3 separate regions of the Homo sapiens genome follow, and all the other regions are linked to region 3. Evidence: promoter capture Hi-C in human tissues and cell types (Jung and others, 2019). All regions are on one chromosome and are shown on one strand. Each heading gives the region's core, a stretch centred on a gene start or on the middle of the fragment in contact. The rest is flanking DNA. Distances are from core to core; before and after follow the strand shown. Region 1 overlaps NEGR1 (neuronal growth regulator 1). Region 2 overlaps NEGR1 (neuronal growth regulator 1). Region 3 holds the start of NEGR1 (neuronal growth regulator 1).

Region 1 (3,981 bases), core at 176-2,675, 720 kb before region 3:
TTTTGCTAGGTTATTCTGTTATAACAGTCAAGGTCTAAGTGACTCCAACAATAAAATTTATTTCTTGCTCACGTAAACAGTTCAACTGCAGTTTTGCTTCTGTTCCATGTGTCTTCCTCATTCTAGGACCAGATTCATATCACTTACCTGGCTCATATTCTTCTCATGGCAGAGGGAAAGTCTGAGACATAACCATTAGTAGTTCTTGGAGCCTGTGCTAAGATGTGGTGCACATCACTTCTGCTATTTCATTGGCCAAAGCAAGTCACATGATCACCAATGTCAATAGGAAGAAGGCCTTGCACATTATCTAAAAATGGGTATAAATGTGTAATCCTCTCATGGGGAAGTAAGTGAATATTTGTGAATAATAATAGAATCTCACGTGGCATATATTTGTTTGCTTATAAAAGAGTGCTTGTTCTCCATGAAACATATTGGAATAGAGAGAGAGAGGACTGACTACCTTTTACTTAAGTGCAACAAGATAACAGTTCAGATTTCCTGCTGACTCTGGGAGATACTTAATCTCCTGGAAAGACACATCTATGAATTTTGCTTGTAAGCTGGCAGATAAATGGCCGGTGCATGAACCCAAGATAGGGTTGATTTTTCCCTCAATGTTTTTATGCTGCTTTGCACCTGGACTCCATGAGCTAGATCAGAGAAAGCCCACAGAGCATTTTTGCAGAATAATGTCATAAATGCCCACATAATTTTAATTACAGATGAAGCTTAAATGGATAATTCAAAATATGCTCCAATCATACAGAGGGAGAGTAAATTATCATCTATTATTGACTGAAAGAACTAGAAAGACAAGTAAATGGTTGCTAGGCCCTTTGCTATCATTTAGAGAAATAGAAGAGCACAAAAATGGTAAAGACATGAGCCTGCAGATATGTAAGAGAAAGATTTTTTTGTCGTTGTTATATTTGTTTTTAACAGAAAGAAGTTTGGAACAAGCAAAAGAAAAGAGTTTCACTGGGAATCTTGCCTTTCTAGTGTAAAAGAGGGTGAAGACTTTAATAAATAAATCTAGCATTTGTGAACTGGAAGTGATGGCTGAAAAAAAATAAAGGAAGGATCACAGAGCCCTGTGAAAGTTTGGGGAACTTGTCCTAGCAGGTTGACACAATTTGACTTGAAAATGATACACTGTTGGTGTCCTTTGCCCTGACTATAGGTGACAGACGACTGGAACAGAAGAGGCACACTGATCGGGGAGGAAAAAAAAAAAGACCAACCTTCCACTCTATCATTTCAAAACAAATATGTATTTATGCTTGGAAATGGAAGGAAAAAGGCCAAAGGTATTCTACATTTTTATCAAATGCCTTTATCCATGCAACGCAAAGCTTTGGCATTACCTGCGAGACTGTTAGAAATGCAGACTCTCAGGCCCCAGCGCAGATGTAGTGAATTAGAATCTGACTTTCGCAAGATCTCAGGTGATCTGTTTGCACTTTAAATAAGTTTGGGAAGTACTGATCTAGGATGAGTAGCCCCTTGCTAGGGGAATGCACGTATGTTATTTTACATTATCATCACCACATACACTCATAGTATTTGTTTCCAAAATTTAAGAATTAGAGAACTTAATTTCATAAACTGGGAAAAATCATACATATGTTAAGTAGTGGATTAAGGATTTGGACCCAGTTCTGTGACTCCACAATCTTTATCTTCCCCATTCTGCTATCTTTTCTTACATTTATTTTTGTACCCACAAAAGAACAAAAAATAAAAGCTCTGCTTCCTTTGGATCTCAATTTTTTAAAAGTCAAAACCCAGTACTTCCTTTACTCATATTTCCTCCCTGTCTCAATCTTCTCTCTTAGTGTTGATATGTACAAAGATGTGCTCTATACAGTAAGAAAACATCAAAAATTTAATCGCAATTTTTGTTGATAGTTCAAAGAAATAAGAAAATTTTTTATAAATGACTATGTTTTATCAATTCTGGATGCCAGTCGTTTTTATAAAATTGTCAAAGCAACTAGTATATGGATATGATAGACTATTTATAATTATGTTTCACAAGGATAAAACTGGAACTCACAGATCATATAATCATTGACTCAGCTATAAAAAGATTTAGAGATAATCTCTTCCTGTGCCCTATGACATTAGGTTACTTTCCAAGGTCACCTATTGCAGAGACATGGTTAAAACTCAAGTATTCAGATTTGCAGTGTAGGGTTCATCCTTTTCTACTATGTATCATACTGCTTCAAAGAGGAAGTTAAGAGTAACTATCAATTAGATATCATTAGGTAAGTACACAAATTTTGCATGATATTTTAAGGCGAAGAATCAGTACTGAGATCCTCTTCCCAAACCAATCAAAGGCCCATTTATTGAGAGGTAACCAGATAAAATAAAATGGTTGTAAACCAAACACTCCCTGGTGGTTCCTCGTAGGAAGCCATGCTTCCCCAGCTTCAAGCCTTTCTATGAATTCTATCCAAAACAGGGTTGGATCAGATTCTTACTGAGATCCTACTTGACTTAATCCTTGGCTTGGGGTTACTAGGGAATTAAGACATATTCAAAGGAAAAGAAAAGGAAAAAATAAGCAGCTGGAGTTTGTGTGCTTGGGTATGCTTCTATGTATGTATACACAATAGTTTAAGCCTGGCTAAGACTTTTATGATTCATGTCATTTCTTGTATACAGACTTCATCTCAGTTCTTAGTGGTTTTTCAGTAACAAGGTATTTGCTTAGCAGGGAAAATAAGTGTTTCTCCCTGTGATTGCCAAACTGGTGTTGGTCTCTCTGCAGAGCACATTTCCTCATCAAGAACTCAGGCCCTCTAAATAGGACAGAGCAACAAGTATTGGCATGCAGACAAAAACCTGCAGAGAGTGCCAGCTGACTCTTCAGTTTCTTCACCAGGTACAGTGCAGAGACAGAAAAATGAAACAGCACACAGCTGAAGGAAGAAAAGGCACATGAAATAAATATGATAGATGCAATGGAGATAAGATATTGAAAAGCAGAGAATAATATTGAGGGCATCAGTGGAACCAGACTAGGTTGGAGAGGATAATGTTCTTAGGAACAATTTCAATAGGAGCCTTTAATAGATTTATACAATTCTATAAGTTTTTCTAAATTTCTTTTTTTATTTTGAATAATTTGCTAGTCTCTTCTTGCTGATCTATGTCCACATGTAAGTCAAATATTGAAAATATATGCCCTAATTTAAAACAATGTCTGACACACAGAGAAGGCCATGTGAAGACAGAGACGGAGATTGGAGTTATGTTGCCACGAGCCAAGGGACACCAACAATTGCTGACATCTACCACAGGCTGGGAAATGGGCACAGAATGGATTCCCCCTGAGAGCCTCCCGAAGGAAACAACCCTGCCAAAACCTTGGTTTTGGATTTCTTCTGGCTCCAGAACTATAAGACAATGTATTTCTGTTGTTTTGAACCACCCAGTTTGTAGTAATTTTTTATGACAGCCCTAGCAAACTAATATAGATATTTAGGTGAATGGATTTCTAATAATAGATATACTTTTAAAAGTATCCTAATTTTTAATGTATTTAGTCATGAGAAAAATATATCAACAAACTAGGGTAAAACATTTTATAGTATTTTCCGTATTTCGTATATAAGTAAACTGAGGCACAGAGAAGACAGCAACTAGAAATAAAATTCTTAGCTAGCTTTTTAAAAAAGTGTTTATTTAATGTTATTCTCTATCAGGTAATTGCTGTGGTGGTCTGTGTGCATCTTCTCATTTATTCATAGAAAGACTACTCTTCATGAGATAAGTATTTCAGTCTCTAGATTAGGTAACAGGCTAGTAACAGAGTTGGATTTGAAACCAGAGCTGTCTATTCTAAGTCCATGCTTTTAAACATGGGTCAGCAAAATTTTCCTGTAAAGGGCCAGATAGTAAATATTTTTGGCTATGCAGGCCAAATGATCTCGGCAACTTCTCATTTCTGATCATGTCATTATA
Region 2 (3,627 bases), core at 102-2,601, 670 kb before region 3:
GAGCCGAGATTGTGCCACTGCACTCCAGCCTGGGCGACACAGCAAGACTCCGTCTCAAAACAAAACAAAACAAAAAAGAAATGTATTGCACTGTATCATGTACTGTATTTATGGGTATGCCAGATTTCCTTTTCAGTTCCTTGAAGGCAGGGTTAAATATCTGATTCATTCTTTGTATATTCCAAGATCATTACACAGTGCCTAGCACAGTGTGATGCTTAAAAAGCTTTTTTTGTAGCATAACTTTTTTTTTTATCCTTCACATAGTTATTCAGCTGTCAACATGTGCCAGGCATTTCTCAAGGAACAAAGCAGTAAATTGCCCTGACGTGATGAAGCTTATATTCTAGATGGGGTAACAAATGGGGAGACAGACTATAAACAGCAAATATCACAAATAAGTAGTTTAAATAAAATGTTAGAAGGTGATAAACAATACAGTAAAACAAAAACAAAACCCTTATAGTTGCAAGGTAAGAGGAATCAGAGAATGGAATGGAATACTATTTTCGATAGGGTAATCTGAGTAGGCCTCATTGAGATGGCAAAACTTGCACAAAGACTAGATGTAAATGAGTGAGTTAGCTATGTGGATATTTAGAGACAGAACCTTGAAGGAAGAGGGAACAGCTTGCAGTAAGACACTGAGGCTGAAGCTAGCCAAGTTTGTTTAATAAATAGCAAGATTGGTGTGGCCGACACAAAGAGAAAGAAGGAGAGTAGGAGGAGATAGGACCAATTTTCAGTGGATTCCAAGTTTACACCAAAGAGAAACAAAGGATGGAAGACTGGGTAGGACCTCTCAGGTCATTTCAAGGAATTGACTTTTATTCTAAGACAAATGGTGAGTCCCTGCAGAGTACAGATAAAATCTGATTGTTTTTTTGAAAAGATGACTCTGGCTGCTGTGTTGAGAAAAGACCATAGTGAGGCTAGGATAAAAGTCTAGGGATAAAGTAGGGAATGCAGTAAGCAAGGCAAATGAAGGTGGGTGGCTCACTCCAGGGTGGTAGCAGTGCAAGTGGTGGAAAGTTATCGGGCTTGTGGTCTACTCTGAAATTGGAGCTGATAAGATTTCTAGACAGACTGAAGTGACATAGAGAAAAAAAGAGGAGTCAAGGGTGATTTAATTTGGCTTGAGTAGCTGGAAGGTTATTGACTGAGATGAAAAGGACAGTAAATAGAAGAATTTTGGAGGGGGCTGTGTGCAGTGGCTCACACCTATAATCCCAGCACTTTGGGAGGCCGAGGCGGGTGGATCACCTGAGGTCAGGAGTTCGAGACCAGCCTGGCCAACGTGGTGAAACCCCGTCTCTACTAAAATTACAAAAATTAGCCAGGCATAGTGGTGGGCACCTGTAATCCCAGCTGAAGCGGGAGGCTTGGGAGGCTGAAGCAGGAGAATCGCTTGAACCCGGGAGGCAGAGGTTGCAGTGAATTGAGACTGCCATTGCACTTCAGCCTGGGCAACCAAAGCGAAACTCCATCTCGAAAAAAAAAAAAAAGAATTTTGGAGGGAAACATTAGGAGTTGTATGCATGCGTCTTTTCATAAATATTTCCTATTCTGCCAAGTTTTTAACATACTATAATTCATATTTCAAATAACACTATAGAAAATTATTAATCAACAACTAGAATCTTGAAGATACAAAAACTAGTTCATTCAGAAATATGGCCTAAGTGTGCACTATGGATGTATTTTGATTTCTTTGGAAAGCAATTAAAAAGTACAGCACTTAATGGTTTATCAATATTCAGTGAATACTGAATATATAGTTTTCAACATATGAAAACTATAAAAACTCTTACAATGGAACATTGCCTTTCAACTAAAAAAATACCCTAGGAAATACATCATTTTCTGTTAAGGGAAATACTTCTTTTTGAAATTATTGCACTTCTATTTCTCTGTGGTGTTTTTATTCTTATTATTTATAGTTCTAGAAAACATTGCAAGGAAAATATTTTTGCTAAAGTACTTGCTAATAAATTGGTGAAAAAAATGAAATAATATTTCCAAAAAATGTTTGCATGAGAACTGTTACAAGATAATATAGATACACACATATACACAAACACACACCCAGTTTTATATATATATAAATCATATATGTATAACTTTTATAATGTACATATACATATATACCCTTATATATACACATTTATCTATATATGGGTGTATACATATACGTATATTCACAAACACAAGAAATCATTTCATAATTTTAAAATTGTTTTGTTAAGCAAAATTTCATGTCACCTGCAAAAGCCAATTAAATATATTAAAAAATCTATAAATAAAACTTCATGTACTTGTCAATTATTATGACACTGCTCATGACAGGTACAGGTAAGATTGTATTTTCACTATTGTTCTCATAGGCTTTAATCTCTCTTTCCTGTCACACAAACAGACTGTAATCTTTTATGATATCTAACTATTATTGAAGATGAAATAACCATATGCAACAGGAGATCCATCACAAGCTTCTACTGATAACCTGGTTAGTTTAATTACTCTCTTGTTTGTCAAGGGGGCCATGACTCATTATAAACAAAAGCATGAAATCCGGAACATTGCCTGAAAACCGGAACATTGCCTGAAAACCCAGGCGTAATGAACCGAAATCAAAATCTAGTTCATCATTAAAAGGCTTTTGTGCAGTACAGTGTACATACGGCTCAGTACTGGGTGCTTTACCACACAAGTTAAAGGGACATGATCCTGTTATCTAGGGCTTCGTGGGCTGCTATGATGGACACCGAAAATGGAAAGATATCTAAAATGTCACATGGAAATATGGATAAAGAATGAATAAATATGCATAAGAAAAAGTCCTAAGAGCATTTTGCAAGGTATAGAGTTAAAGGTCCAAGTGTTGTGAAGTAATCAATGTGGAGAGAAGATTCTCATGAGGCTATCCCTTTGTGGCTAAAATTATAAACTTGAACCAAAAACCTCTATTGATTTTACTTGGAGACATAAAAGTTCTTATTACATACTCATATTACTGTGCATCTTTTGGAAATAACTTGTTCAAAAAGAAAAGGATTCATCCATTTATTTATTCTTTATTCCTCTGTTGATTCAACACATATTTTATCAGGGATCACATTAATGAAAAAAAAAATATTCCTGGCCTCATAGAGCTGATATGAAGTGATACAAACTAAGACGAAAACAGAGCAGGGTGAAAGAAAAAGGAAGAGCAAGATATGTTATTTACTATGTTGCAGTCTCAGAGATCCTGGATGATAAGGTAATATTTGAACAAAGAATTAAATGATGTGAGAAAAGGAATCATTTGGCAATTCGTAGAAAATTATAATAAGAAAAAGGAAAGGCAAAGGTCCTGAGTGGAGAGCATACTTGAGGTGGAAACATGTTTAACAGGATTAGGTTTAACACACTGTTTTAGAAATAGCAAAATGGTCATCATTGCTTGAGTAGAATAGGTGAGAATAATCTAGAAGAGAAGGTGGGGCAGGGGGCTGGAGCCCAGATTCTATAGGGTCTAGTAGCCCATGGTAAAAGCTTTGAATTTTATTCTAAGCTGATAAGGTTTTGCAGATTTTGAGCAGAGGAGTGACATGATTTAGTTAAAATCCTACAGAGATTATTTGT
Region 3 (3,960 bases), core at 1,268-3,767:
AGAAACATTATTGAGAAGACACAGAGACTCTGTTCTCTTTAAGAAGTTTGAAAGTCAAGTTCCCTCAGTATCACAAAATGCGGGATATAGCATCAAAATGGATGAGGTACAGAGCACACAAAGTAAACAAGGACTGCACCAAACCAACAACACTGGAAATATATGGTCCCCACATATTAGGGAAGCTCCACTGTTGGAAGCAATGAGTGAACTAAACATGGGTCTCCTGGAAGCAGAATGTGGGTCCAGCTATCTTCACTAACCATAGTATTTATTAAATTGTTGTTTGTTTGGGAAACCAAATGCCAGGATACATTATTGAAAGAAAAGCAGTCTCCTAAACCCTTTAGGGTGGAAATGGTAATGCTCACTACAAATAAGCAATATGTTGCTTGCTACAAAAATACATATTGCAGCTCCCATGATATGTGTTTGCAATCTCTGAAGATAGTGTCTTGCCCTTACCACTGTTGTTCAAACTTCTAAAACAAACTTAACATAAAGAGAAAATACAGGCTTAATTTATATCCTCTCTGTGACAAAGAATTTATCACTGTTACCAACAATGAAAAGTTTTTTTTTACTGTGTAATATCAAAGATATTAGTTACTTTTGTATATAGTGGCATTTGTTATTCAAAACAGAAATTATTAAAAACATATGTATTAGTGTATATTAAAAAATACGATAGTATTCCAAATTTGAACTCATAGGCATGTTCCAAAAGGTGTAAGTCATATACCACACCCACATCATTAAATTTAAATATGTTGCATGTTTCAAACAGAAACATTTCCCACTCTCTTTCACCTTAGACATGTCATGTACACTGATGTTGTGCAAGCCAGACTTACAAGCCAACTACCACCCAGTGGAGAAAAAGAAGATCTTTCAGGGAAATGTGAGGTGGGGTGGCAGGGGGAGAAGGGAGGGTGATGGGAAAGAAATGAAGGAATAGGGCGTTTAGCTTTGTTTAGATCTAAGCTTTGCTGATCATCCATTTATATTTTCATAGGAAATAAAATATTCCCAGACTCCCACTCTGCAGTGTTGCTTAGGGGTAAAATCAGGGTATGGATGTTTATTAATGACAAACCACCTCAGAGCTCAAGCTCAGAGGAAAGAAGGGAAAATGAGAAAAATAAGTAAAAGTGAAGACTGATGGAGGGAGGAAGGTAGGAATAAAAAGGGGATAGAAAGACACAGAAAGAGAAAAAGAGAGAAGCAGAGACAGAGTGAGAGCAGCGAGTGAGACAGGCAGTGTGTACACATGTGTGAGTGACAATGTGGAACAGAGAAGGAGAGTATGCCTTTTAAAAACAGTGAGAGACAATCTGAATGTGGAAGTGGTTCTTACAGCATGGAAGTGCCAGTGCATGTGAGGATGTGAGAGTATGTGAGTTAGTATGTTTATGGAAATAAGATTTATGAGGGTGAGTAAATGGTACTGGAGGGGAACAGTGACCATGCCTGTGTGTGCCACAGGGGTGGGAAACGGTATGGGGAGAGGGATGAGAAATGGGAGTCAAAAGAGGGAAGACAGGGCACAGGATAGGGACATTAAGGAGGAATAAAAAAAATAGACAAAAAGAAAAAAGGGTAAAAGAGAGGAGGAAAGGGGATTAAATGTGAGGAACAGAAATTAGAGTCGTGGAGATAAAAATGAGAAAATATGAGAAGAAATTTTAAAAAGGAGGGAAAAAACAGAAAATAGAAAAGGTATGAAAAGAGATATTGGAGGGAAAAAGAGTTACAAGGAGGTGGGGAAAATGGTATAAGAGAATGAGGAAGGAGAAAAGAAAGAAAACAGAAAGCGGTAAAAGGAAAGAAAGATAAAGAGCAAGAAATCGAGCCTAAGTGTCCAAGTGAGAGGGAAAATAAATGGGAGCAGAGAACAGCAGTTTGAAAGAGTCGCTTATGCTGGAGTAAAATAGAAACAAACCTGATAAACTTGTCAGACTCTCCAGGAGTACCCCATGACAGTAAAACAGAGACCTTGTGCATTGAGTTTCAAAGTGGCACCTGCCCCTCCTTCTAAACCTGACAGTTCACTCATCCCCAGGCTACTTGGCGTTCCGGCAAAGTGCTTTAGCATCACGAGTCCAGCTTGCTACCTGCCCCAGCATAAACGGGCCGGGGCTCCGGGAAGAATCTGCACCTGGAATTCTTGGGATGTGGTCTTTCCATGATGAGCACCACCAGCATTATTGCTTGTGTTATAAAGAAGGCAAAGAGGGTTCAAAGAGAGACAGAAAGATAGACCGAAACAAGTACGAAAAGCACGCCGTTCTTCCTACCTAAGCACCGCCGTGTCCCCTTTTCTGACCATCATGTTGTCCACGGCCGCCCAGGGGAAGTCCACACTCTGTCCAGCCGGGAGGCAGGAGGGTAGCAGGCAGCACAGGCTGAGGAGCACCGCCGCCAGCCACTGGTTCGAGCAACAAGCACCCTGCACCAACAGCATCATGTCCATCCCTGCTAGGGCTGCTCACTCTCCAGCAGCTTTCAGCTCGCACTCCCCCACCCCCTGGTGCTGGCGAGTCTTCCCGGGAACCAGGCGGCGCGCCACAGGATTTTTTTTTTTTTTTTTTTTTTTTTTTTTTTTTGGTGGGTGGGTGGGTTTCTTTTCTTTCTTTCTTCCCCCCACCCCAGTTGTTGGGTGTTGTTTCTCTCTTTTTGTTTTTCGGTGTTTTTGCCTCCCCTCCTCCTCTTCGCTTTCCCTCCCTCCCTCCCCTCCCTCCCCCTGGCACCACACTACACCTCCTCTCGGTTGCTTTTGGCCGCGTCCGGAGTGTGTCTAATTCTCGGGCGGCTCGCACACCATCTAGCGAGGAGGCGAGCGCGCCGGCGAGTGAGGGAGGAGGCGCGGCGGCGGGGGAGGAGGCAGGGCGAGCGGCGGCGGCGGCGGCTGCAATCCCAGCAGCAGCAGCAGCAACAGCAACAGCAGCAGCAGAAGCAGCGCGGAGCGCTGCGCCGGCCGCCGGCTCCCGGGCTCGCGCGCGTTGCCAAGCGGCCGTTTCCTTAGCAACCCCGCCAGGGGACTGGGGATGGAGAAGGGAGGGGGATTAAAAAAATAATAAAAAAAGAAAGAAAAAAGATAGCAAGAAAAAAAAAAGAAAAGCAAGACAACGAAAAAAAAAATAGGAGGAACTGTATCACAATTATGCAAACTAAGGGGGAAAGAGAGGCACCTTAGAATGAAGGCTCTCCTTACTGTCGTAAGCGCTAGAGGGATTCTTTGCTAGAAAAGTCTCCGTGTCAGGGCTGGGGTGAAGAGAGCTGAGGGGCGCTTTGCCTTCCCTCACCGGTGCGTTTTACCTCTCGAGGCACCGTAAGTTTGAAGTCCTCCAAGTTGTGGTCGGCGCCATCATGACGCCGGCGACTGTGAGTTGTTTTTTTGTTTATTTTCTTCTAATCTTGCCTGGGTGGCTACGCTGCAGTTAGCGAGCAGCCAACTAGTTCTCTCTGCGTTTTCTCGGGAATAGGTAGGGACGGTGGCGGGGCGCTGCTTTTTTGCGGGGACACGAGGAGGTGCAAGGCCTTGCGGCAGAGCAGCTTGCGTGTTTGTGGCGGTCGGCCCGTATGGATTGCAGGACGCCCCTCTTTTATCTGTGGGTGTTGACACTAAGTTGTGTGTGTGAGTAGGGGATTGTTTATGGTCAACATGGAGTGTGTGTGTGATAGAGAGCGTGTCGTGCGCGCGGGGGCCTGTGCACGCGCGGCACGCAGGCGCGCTGGGAGGGACGGGGCGGGTCATGCTGGGATGTAGAGTCGGGAAAAGACTGCAATCAAGTGTTTTAATTGTGTAGAGCCCAGGCGGTCCAGTTATGTAAGAGGCAGTTTAACCCATTTGAGCCTATCAGGCCGAATAATCGGCGCATCCGAGTCAAGGCAGGGCAGAGTTAAGGGGTTTAACGAGTCGCAGGGTTGTATTTCTTAACAGCCTCCACACCGCGTTAA

Evidence for each region. The method cuts DNA at HindIII sites, captures the fragments that hold promoters and counts their contacts. A contact is called where the count stands out against the background at its distance.
Region 1: a fragment that was not itself captured here is called in contact with the fragment with the promoter of NEGR1 in region 3 in 2 of the 25 tissues and cell types used here (dorsolateral prefrontal cortex and hippocampus).
Region 2: a fragment that was not itself captured here is called in contact with the fragment with the promoter of NEGR1 in region 3 in 1 of the 25 tissues and cell types used here (hippocampus).

Annotation. Positions count from the first base shown.
Region 1 is chr1:71,562,731-71,566,711 of GRCh38, forward strand. The region is part of intron 6 of NEGR1 (neuronal growth regulator 1); the gene reads right to left. Among named protein-coding and RNA genes, the nearest start is that of NEGR1-IT1, 270 kb to the right of the region's middle. The HindIII fragment of the contact is 6,633 bases long and covers 1-3,981 here.
Region 2 is chr1:71,612,166-71,615,792 of GRCh38, forward strand. The region is part of intron 4 of NEGR1 (neuronal growth regulator 1); the gene reads right to left. Among named protein-coding and RNA genes, the nearest start is that of NEGR1-IT1, 220 kb to the right of the region's middle. The HindIII fragment of the contact is 3,323 bases long and covers 1-3,013 here.
Region 3 is chr1:72,280,022-72,283,981 of GRCh38, forward strand. It overlaps NEGR1 (neuronal growth regulator 1), which reads right to left and starts at 2,518. Exons shown (of 7, transcript NM_173808.3): 1 at 2,298-2,518. The coding sequence starts at 2,473. It overlaps LOC105378797 (a long non-coding RNA gene), which reads left to right and starts at 2,913. Exons shown (of 6, transcript XR_947506.3): 1 at 2,913-3,384. RefSeq lists silencers at 2,705-2,764, 2,865-2,954. The HindIII fragment of the contact is 4,654 bases long and covers 231-3,960 here.